Regions from separate parts of the Homo sapiens genome. Here region 1 is linked to region 2. Evidence: promoter capture Hi-C in human tissues and cell types (Jung and others, 2019). All regions are on one chromosome and are shown on one strand. The core of a region is centred on a gene start or on the middle of the fragment in contact, and the rest is flanking DNA. Distances in the headings are between cores, read along the strand shown.

Region 1 (4,880 bases), core at 396-2,895, 1.1 Mb after region 2:
CACCCCGCTTCAGCCCATCAGCCTCCAAATGTAGTCCAAGTCCTCATCTCTGTACCTGGACCATTGCATTTTCGCTGGCCCCTAGCCCCCACTGGGCTCCCCACTGGCTGCCAAATACCAGTGTGACCCTGTCCCTTCCTTGCTTTAAGCCTCTCAGTAGTTTGTTTGTTTGTTTTTGAGATGGAGTCTTGCTCTGTCACCAGGCTGGAGTGCAGTGACATAATCTTGGCTCACTGCAACCTCCACCTCCCGGGCTCAAACGATTCTCCTGCCTCAGCTTCCCGAGTAGCTGGGGCTATAGGCGCCCACCACCATGCCCAGCTAATTTTTGTATTTGTAGTAGAGACAGGGTTTCACCATGTTGGCCAGGCTGGTCTTGATCTCTTGACCTTGTGATCTGCCCACCTTGGCCTCCCAAAGTGCTGGGATTAGAGGCGTGAGCCACCATGCCCCGCCTGCCTCTCAGTAGTTATTTACCACTGAAGCAGAGTGAAGCCTGTGCTCCACATTGCTTCATGGCCAAGACCTCAGGGACAAGTGGACACACCAGGCAGTGGGAGTGGATATGGCAAAGCCAAACCCAGATCTCTTCTCAAAATAATTTTCCAGAGGGCAAAAGCAGATGGCTACACCGAGAACTCACGCCAGCCCAACACACTTTGATCTCGAGGCCTCTGGAAGGGAAGGTGCCTAATGAACTACTGAAAGCCAGAGATGCAATGACAAAGGTACCAAGACTGGAGGTGATCCAGGTCTTTCATCCAAGAGCCCCAAGACGTAGCCTAAATTCATGCTACGGTAATCCCAGCACTTTGGGAGGCCGAGGCGGGCGGATCACCTGAGGTCAGGAGTTCGAGAGCAGCCTGGCCAACATGGTGAAACTCCGTCTCTACTAAAAATACAGAAATTAGCCAGGTGTGGTGGCGGGTGCCTGTAATCCCAGCTACTCAGGAGGCTGAGGCAGGAGAATCGCTTGAACCCGGGAGGCGGTGGTTGCAGTGAGCCGAGATCACGTCACTGCACTCCAGCCTGGGCGACAAGAGCGAAACTCCATCTCAAAATAAAATAAAAATAAATAAATTGACACAGTCAGTGCCTCGCTCCCACCCCCACCTCCAGCATAGCACCATGACAGTCTTCTCACATAACAAGTCCCAAAACACACCATCGGCATCCAGAAAGTGAGAGTAACTCGTTACAGTTGAGACCTCTCACTCCCGGTCATTATCTCATTTCAATCCAAGAGGTAGACTTCTTCATCGCCCCTGACATACACATGAGGAAAAGGCCCAGAGAGGTGAAGTGATGCCTCAGGTCACTCAGCCAGTTACCAGTAGAGCAGATCCTTCAATGCAAGTTTTTCTCCAACCCTACACAGCAGTCGTACCAGGGCCCCAGGCTGCAATCCCCTGGCCCAGTGCTGATCGGTGGCTCCCAGGGACACGCCCTGATGCCAGCGCTGGCAGATGTCTGCTGTGAAGAGAGCAGGAAACTGTCCCTTGGAAAGCTGAGATGCTTACCTGAACTGTGAAAGTATCCATATGTGAGCAGCTAAGGAGACAGCAGTGGCTGGAGTGCTGCAGCTCAGGCACAGCTGGTGAGAGGCATTCCTCACTCACAGGCCTTCACCCACTGCTAGAGACAGTGAGCCCCATCCTGACCACTTCCCCTTTCTAGTCAGCCCACGGGGCAGAGACCCTGGCGTCATCTCTAGGCAACCATCCCTTTTCCAGGGAAGCTCATGACCCACGGCTGTCCAGAAGCCAGAATCTTCTCACTGCCCCGTGTCGCTCCCGCAAGGCCTACCAGAGGACCCTCATGGTGTGGTAGGGGGTCCTGGCAGGGGCCAGGGGCCAGGGTGGAGACTTGGCAGTGGGGGTGGGTTTGGTGTCCCCACAGACGAGTTTGCCGTGAGCATTCCTGGATGTGGCAACCTCAGTCTCAAGAAGAGCGACAGGACGCCAGCTCCCATGCAGAGACAGATCCAGGTAAGAAACCAGCTCATGTGTGACAAACTCACCATCTCACCATGAAGGTGACTCTTGAAAGCTCCTGTGCACCTTGGAACTGCTGAGACATCTTCTGCTTGGAGGAGGCAAGGGACAGGCTTCCTGTTTCTAAAGGCGTGTGAGTGGCGACCTTGAGAAATGTGGCCAGTGGAGCATTTTGACTGAGTTGGGTCCCCTCGTGCAATACTGTGAGACAGAACTCCCAGCGAGGCCCACGGCCTCTGACCATGGGGGTTGGAGTGGGGAAACCAATTAGCCATTTTGTTGAATTGGCTGGTTCTGACTCAAATGAGCAGTCACATTAGTAAAAATAGGCAAACGGATGTGCATTGTATTTGCCCAGAGCGAATGAGTTGTTATCCATTTCAGTAATAATGATAACCAGATATGTCTGATAAATATCTGATAATGTCTGATATATGTCTGGTAAATTTAACAAACACCGGGCTCTGGCTGGGTGCGGTGGCTCACACCTGTAATCCCAGCACTTTGGGAGGCCAAGGCGGGTGGATCACCTGAAGTCAGTAGTTCGAGACCAGCCTGGCCAACATGGTGAAACCCCATCTCTACTAAAAATACAAAAATTAGCTGGGCATTTTGGTGTGAACCGGTAGTCCCAGCTACTCAGGAGGCTGAGGCGGGAGAATTGCTTGGACCCGCGAGGTGGAGGTTGCAGTGAGCCAAGATCACACCATTGCGCTCCAGCCTGGGCAACAGAGCAAGACTCTATCTCAAACAAACAAAACAAAACATCTGGCTCAGAAGATTCCTGATTTGCAGTGTTTACTAATTTCTTTTTTCTTTTTCTTTCTTTCTTTCTTTTTTTTTTTTTTTTTTGAGATGCAGTCTCACTCTGTCGCCAGGCTGGAGTGCAGTGGCTCAATCTCAGCACACTGCAACCTCCGACTCCCAGGTTCAAGCAATTCTCCTGCCTCAGCCTCCCAAGTAGCTGGGACTACAGGTGTGTGCCACCGCATCCGGCTAATCTTTGTATTTTTAGTAGAGACAGGGTTTCACCATGTTGGCCAGGCTGGTCTCGAACTCCTGACCTCAAGTGATCCACCTGCCTCGGCCTCCCAAAGTGCTGGGATTACAGAGTTGAGCCACTGCACCTGGCCAAGGCCTGAACTCTTTCTTCTTAGGCTCATCCAAAGTTTAGCTGCTAAAAAACCTTCCTAAAAGCCAATTTAAAATTTTCTTCTAGGCCGGGCACAGTGGCTCACGCCTGAAATCCCAGCACTTTGGGAGGCCAAGGCAGGCGGATCATGAGGTCAGGCGTTTGAGACCAGCCTGGCCAACATGGTGAAATCCCGTCTCTACTAAAAATACAAAAATTAGCCAGGCATGGTGGCAGGTGCCTGTAGTCCCAGCTACTTGGGAGGCTGAGGCAGAAGAATCGCTTGAACCTGGGAGGCGGAGGTTGCAGTGAGCCGAGATCGAGCCACTGCACTCCAGCCGGGGTGACAGAGCAACACTCCGTCTCAAAAAAAAAAAAAAAAAAAATTCTCTTCTGAGGGGTGAATAAATGCTTCTGTGGATAGAGCTCATCCTAGGCTAACAAAGCTGTGACTTCTTGGTTTGTGTTTCATTCATTCATTCAATAAATTACTCAATAAATTATTTTGCTAACCTTTAAGGACCTCAGTTCAGCTGTGATATAGTAAACTCTGTAGCCCTACTATTTCTAACAATGCCTTTTGCACAGCAAGTTCAAGCCTGAGGTGTCAGGTGATCAGAATTCCAGGCCCGGTTTGACAAAACTTTCTTTGTGAATCCTTCCCTTCTCTGAGCCTCAGTTTCCTTGTTGTAAAATGAAAGAATTCAATTGACAAATATGAAAGTGCTCCAGGGATTTTGCCATCTGCCTTCAAGAAAGTCCCGCAAAGTGTAGGAGGAAGTTGAAGCCATAATATGATGCAGGCTAAATACAATGACCTTCAATTTGTGCCAGACCCTGTGCTCAACAAGTAGAGACTCAGAACTGGGCAAGTCATTCATGGGTAGAGCACATGGCACATGTTCTACAGGACAGAAGGCACATAAGTTATTACTATGCAAAGTGATGAATGCTAGTGCTGTGGAAGCACAAAAGTGGGAGAGAAGAAAGGGTCTGAGTGGTAGCATTTGAACTGGGCCTTGAAGGATGTGTAGGAGCTCACCAAATGGACAGAATGTGGACAGACACAAAGCAGCCATAGTATTTGGAGAGAAAGAGATGGTTGCATGGCTGATCAAGAGTGAATGTGTTGGGCAGTCAGAGGCTTGAGAGCAAAGTTTAGGGACACACACCACGGCATCTGGATCTACCCACTTCCTTGCTATCTACATTCTTCCCCGACTCCACCATTTGTCTTTCCACCACAAGAGGAGGGCAGGAAGTTGGGGCGGTTGTGTTCTTTCTGCACATCTGAAATGCCACCTGCTGGTCTGGGCAACTAAAGAGGTCCCTGAGGGCCCTAGATTAGCGGCTGGACCAGAGGGTGTCAAGGAGAATGAAGGGCACCCTCTAGTGGTCACCTGTGGTGCTTTCTCCTCAGGATTCTGGTCCCTCTGACCTCCCCGTAGGGATGGCTGGACACACAAGATGTTCACCTCTTAAAGCTACAGAGACCATCAGGCTAGAGGACACTCAGAAGGGATTCCAGTCCACCCTTCATCTCATGACTCAACCTTTTTGTCAACATCCGGGTGGCACCCAGCTTCTGCCGTTTTGTTTCTTCTCACTCAGTCATCTAAGTCATGTGTAAAATGAGGTGTTATTCTTTGTGCCACTCACAAGTGTCAATTAATCCCCATCATGAGAAAAAAACTGAAGAAAGAGAAATCATAAGATACAACATATAATTAGAACATTAATAGATTTTATTGCAG
Region 2 (4,823 bases), core at 2,056-4,555:
TCACAATCAGGTTTTTAAACCTTGGCTAAGCCTCACTCACAGAACTGTATGACCTAGCTATGTGAATCAAAGACTGCCAAATATAACTCAATGTTTTCTCTCCCCTTCCTCAATAATTAAGCCCTGAGTTTTAGCTGAATATATGGCCACGGAAAAAGAATCTTTCCCAGCCTGTCCTGCAGGTAACTGCGGCCATGTGACTGAATTTTGGCCTGTGGGATGTAAGCTATGCCCGTAAGAGAGTGGGCATGGCTTCTTCCTTCTCCTTCCCTTTTCCCTTTCTTGCTTGTTGGAATGTGGAAAATGACAGCAGGAGTCAACAGAATTACTAAGTGGAAGATGTCCGTGGAGGATGACAGCACAAGATGGACGAAGCCAGGTCCCTGATGATGACAACACTGCCACATCAATCTTGGACTGCCTACCTGGACATTTTCATAAGGAAGCAGCTTCTTTTTATGTTTAAACCACTGATGCATTAGGTTTTCTGTCCCTTGAAAAAGTTTTGTGTATCCCTAATACACCACACCAGACTTCTTCCAGATTCTCTGGACTTTGAACTTTTGTGGATACAATTTCCTCTGCCTGAAACGCTGTTACTACCTCCTGTAACACTATCTGCTTTCACCATTCACCTGTGGGCTGAAATGTTACCTTCTCAGGTAAGTCTTGCTTGAGCCCCAAGTGAGGTTAAATACACTTGCTATTTATTCCTTATACCTTCCCCCTCGGTTAACACTCACCATATCTTATAATTAATGGGTTAATACCTGTCTCTTCCACCACAACTACATACTCTTTAAGAGCAAGTATCTGCTTTGTCCACTGTCATCCAAGTGAGTGGCACTCGATATACGCCCAATAAACATTTGCTCAGTGAACAATAATGCCACAACCCCTGAGTGATTTCTGGACCACACCTCAAGTATTTCTTGACCTTCTATTAAGGGACTCCTATGAACTCTACATAAAGTTCTATTTCTGTCAGAAACTCTCAGAATGTAAACGGTGTTTCTCTCCATTTGCCTTTGCTCAAATCTGCAAAGTGCCATCTCCTTCAACAGTTCTGCATGGTTCTTCCCACTACTACTTCATATTCTCATAATACGCGTAGATACTAGAAAGAAGGTACTATGTGTATTCCTGGGGGGAAAAAAAAAGGAGATCTTTCACTAACTAATATGACTTTTTTTTTTTTTTTTGAGACAGAGTATCGCTCTGAGGCCCAGGCTGGAATGCAGTGGCGTGATCTCAGCTCACTGCAACCTCCGCCTCCTGGGTTCAAGCGGTTGTCCCACCTCAGCCTCCCAAGTAGCTGGGATTACAGGCACCCGCCACCATGCCCAGCTAATTTTTGTATTTTTAGTAGAGGTGGGGTTTCACCACGTTGGCCAGGCTGGTCTTGAATTCCTGACCTCAGATGATCCTCCCGCCTCAGCCTCCCAAAGTGCTGGGATTACAGGCGTGAGCCACTGCGCCCAGCCATGACTATTATTTTTAAGGGTTGGGATGCCTTAAAGGTACTTTTTTCATAAGAAACACACAAACTACATTATCTGAATTCTGGCCATGTACAGGAAGACATTCTTAAAATATTTTAAAAGCCTCTGATTTTAAGGTGAACAGAACCTTTTAAAGGCACTGCAAGTACCCGCTGGTTTACTGCTTTATGTACACACCCTTCGTGGCCACTGAAGATTCTACATGACTGGCTAACTCATTTTCACAAAATAAGTACCTTTTTGGTCATACCGTGGTGTTAAAAGAAATAGGATCCCAGGAAGGAGGTAGTGAGACATTAAAAACAAAAAATAGGGTGCGGGTGGAGGGAGAGAGAGCATCAGGAAGAATACCTAATGGATGCTGGGCTTAATACCTGGGTGATGGGATGCTGTGTGGAGTAAACCACCATGGCACACGTTTACCTATGTAATACATCTGCAAATCCAAATCCTGCACATGTACGCCTGAATTTAAAATAAAAGTTGAAAGAAAGAAAAAAAAAAAAAGCAAGAGATCTAGTTGATAGTCTGTTTTACTAATGATTCACTGGGTAACCCTGGATCAGTCTTCTTAACTCGAAGTGAAGCGCCCAGTAAATAAACTCCCAAAATGCCTTCCAAGGAAAATATTTTGTTGCCAAATCAATTTGCTCTCTTAATGACTTAGCAGACATGATCTTGGTGATTATATGAAGAACTGCATAATTACAAGTATTCACAGGAAACCTGGTATTTGCCTATCAGTTTCGGATCCTATGAAGGTTTAAATGAGTCTAATATATGGTTCTTTAAGGATCTACAAACCAGTATGTATTTTAGAAAAGCTAGTTTTTGCATGAGGAGGATAGGTTTTAGAATGTGAGCCTTTCCAGCATGTTACTACTGTCTTTCCACACTTATTCGGCGCCCACACTGAATTGGGAAGGTGCTGTGTAAAAACCTGGACAGGACAATACAAAAAATGGTTCTCAGCGCCACTCCTCCTATCCTTACATCTCTTTTCTCTCCAAACTGTTCGAGAATCTGATAGAAGATCTCCAGAGTAGCGTCAATCAACTGCACAAAGGTCTGCATTACAACATACAGAGAGAGACATATGGGCTTGTCCAGCTCTTCAGAGCAAGGACGGCCTGATGCAGACTTTCCAGACCTCTAACATAGGTTAAAGAGAAACGAAGCAAACGCCTGGTGAAAAGCTGGAAACACCTCATATGGGTCCCCGCCTGGCCTCTCCAAAGCAAATGCCCACCTCTTCCTTCAGTCCCCTGGGGGCGACCGCCCTGCCCCATCCCCGCAGTCGCCTGCCGGCCCTGACCTCCTCGAACTGCTCGCTAGAGCAGCCGGCGCCGCGAGCCTCCAGCAGCTCCCGGAACTGCTCCAGAGTGACAGACTCTTCGCCGCGGCCCAGCCGCTCTTCCAGCCAGCGAAACAACGCGCCGCGATGCCTCGACACCAGCGACTCGCAGGGGGGTGTGGGCAGCAACGCTGCAGCAGCCTCTCGCAGCCTGGCCGGCTCCAGCAGCGCCGCGGCGGGTGGTAGCGCTGGAGCCGCGACGCCCGGGCCGGGGGTCGTGCCCGAGACCGCGGCCCAGTCCTGGTGTGGGCCCCAGCCCTCGCCACCGGCAGCTGCCGCTTCGTCTTCACTGCTGTGACTCGGAGCGTTCCCCATGGGGTCTCCGTCTTGGGCGCCTGGCTCTGCAGCCGCCGCCGCCGCCTCCCCGCCTCGACCTGTCAACCTCCGACAGCAGCTGGCGGGCGGGGACGCGGAGGAGACGACGGCGGCCCCTGCGGCTTCCGGCTTCCTGGCCGTCAAGCGACGACCGCTGTCGCAAAGGCGCCGTCACGTAGATAGGCGGCCTCTACCAACTCACGACAGCTAGGCGGGGAGCGCCGCCTCAAAGGGTGCAACCTTGATTTCCCAGAGGACGAGTCTGTCTCAGTATCTACGTCATTCCGTAGCCTCCGCTGCCGCCATCTTTGTTGGGGCTGACAACCTGCAAGCCAAGAAGTACGAGAAGGGCCAGGCGCGGTGGCTCACGCCTGTAATCCCAGCACTTTGGGAGGCCGAGACGGGTGGATCACCTGAGGTCAGGAGTTCGAGACCAGCCTGACCAACGTGGTGAAACCCTGTCTCTACTAAATACAAAATATTAGCCGGACGTGGGGGCGCGTGCCTGTAATCCCAGCTACTTGGGAGGCTGAGGCAGGAGAATCGCTTGAACCCGGGAGGCGGAGGTTGCAGTGAGCCGAGATTCCGCCAGTGCACTCCAGCCTGGACAACAAGAGCTAAAACTCTGTCTCAGAAAAAAAAAAAAAAAGTACCTGGAAAAAGTCGCAGACAGCGAGCTTTTCGCCAGTGCCAGGAATACAGATAAAACGAGAGAGACTAAGGGAGGGAGCGCGAGCACTAGCGCGCGAGAGAGAGAGCGAGAGCGCGCGCGCCGATGACGTCACGCTCGGCGTCTCGGCCATCTTAGCTGTAGATAGAGGCGGCAACCTCGGAAGTGCGGAGCGGGTGGGCCTATATAGATGTTGAGGTGCGGAGGCCGTGGGCTTTTGTTGGGCCTGGCTGTAGCCGCAGCAGCGGTAATGGCAGCACGGCTTATGGGCTGGTGGGGTCCCCGCGCTGGCTTTCGCCTTTTCATACCGGAGGAGCTGTCTCGCTACCGCGGCGGCCCAGGGGACCCGGGCCTGTACTTGGCGTTGCTCGGCCGTGTCTACGATGTGTCCTCCGGCCGGAGGCACTACGAGCCTGGGTCCCACTATAGCGGCTTCGCAGGTATCAGCGAGGCTGCTCACGCCTTTCTCTCCGCTGGCGCGAGCCAGTAGCCACCTGCGCGTCGTTCGTTGGTTCATTATTCATCTATTTCCCCCCCCATCCCCACCCCACATCCATCAAACCCGTGCGGTGGGCGGGACGAGCTGCATGCACTATCCTTCTAGGCTCTCTGGCTCTGGCGGGACTGTGGGCCAGCTCTGTCATCCACCACCGCCCTGCGTGACTTACATTGGAGAAACATGTCTTCTGTCTCTTGTTACCCATTACCCAGCGTCGGAAGCCCTAGGATACGGGCTGTGTGCCGGACTTTTGTGGGGGCTCTTAGGGCACAGATAAACGAGATCCCGCCCCGCCCCTACCCTCACAGTTTCCTTAATAATTCCAACCATCTCTTCATTATGCCCTGGTCCCAAATAATCTTTCTTCCCCCCACCCCTAAGCATAGTGTTTTCAAGGTTCATCCATGGTTTATGAGCATGCATCAATACTTTATTCCTTTATGGCCCGTCATATAGTACATTTGGTCTGAGTCATTCCTGCTT

Evidence for each region. Contacts are between HindIII fragments. The study calls those that stand out against the background at their distance.
Region 1: a contact is called between the fragment with the promoter of SCIMP here and the fragment with the promoter of ZZEF1 in region 2, in 1 of the 25 tissues and cell types used here (small bowel).

Annotation. Positions count from the first base shown.
Region 1 is chr17:5,233,215-5,238,094 of GRCh38, forward strand. SCIMP (SLP adaptor and CSK interacting membrane protein) reads right to left here and starts at 1,646. Exons shown (of 5, transcript NM_207103.3): 1 at 1,521-1,646. The coding sequence starts at 1,541. ZNF594-DT (ZNF594 divergent transcript) reads left to right here. Exons shown (of 6, transcript NR_152840.1): 6 at 1,900-2,789. RefSeq lists enhancers at 1,888-2,087, 4,033-4,332. The HindIII fragment of the contact is 19,973 bases long and covers 1-4,880 here.
Region 2 is chr17:4,139,725-4,144,547 of GRCh38, forward strand. It overlaps ZZEF1 (zinc finger ZZ-type and EF-hand domain containing 1), which reads right to left and starts at 3,306. Exons shown (of 55, transcript NM_015113.4): 1 at 2,818-3,306. The coding sequence starts at 3,171. CYB5D2 (cytochrome b5 domain containing 2) reads left to right here and starts at 3,473. Exons shown (of 4, transcript NM_144611.4): 1 at 3,473-4,281. The coding sequence starts at 4,032. RefSeq lists a silencer at 3,032-3,201 and enhancers at 3,067-3,618, 3,282-3,591, 3,619-4,171, 3,742-4,321. The HindIII fragment of the contact is 20,801 bases long and covers 1-4,823 here.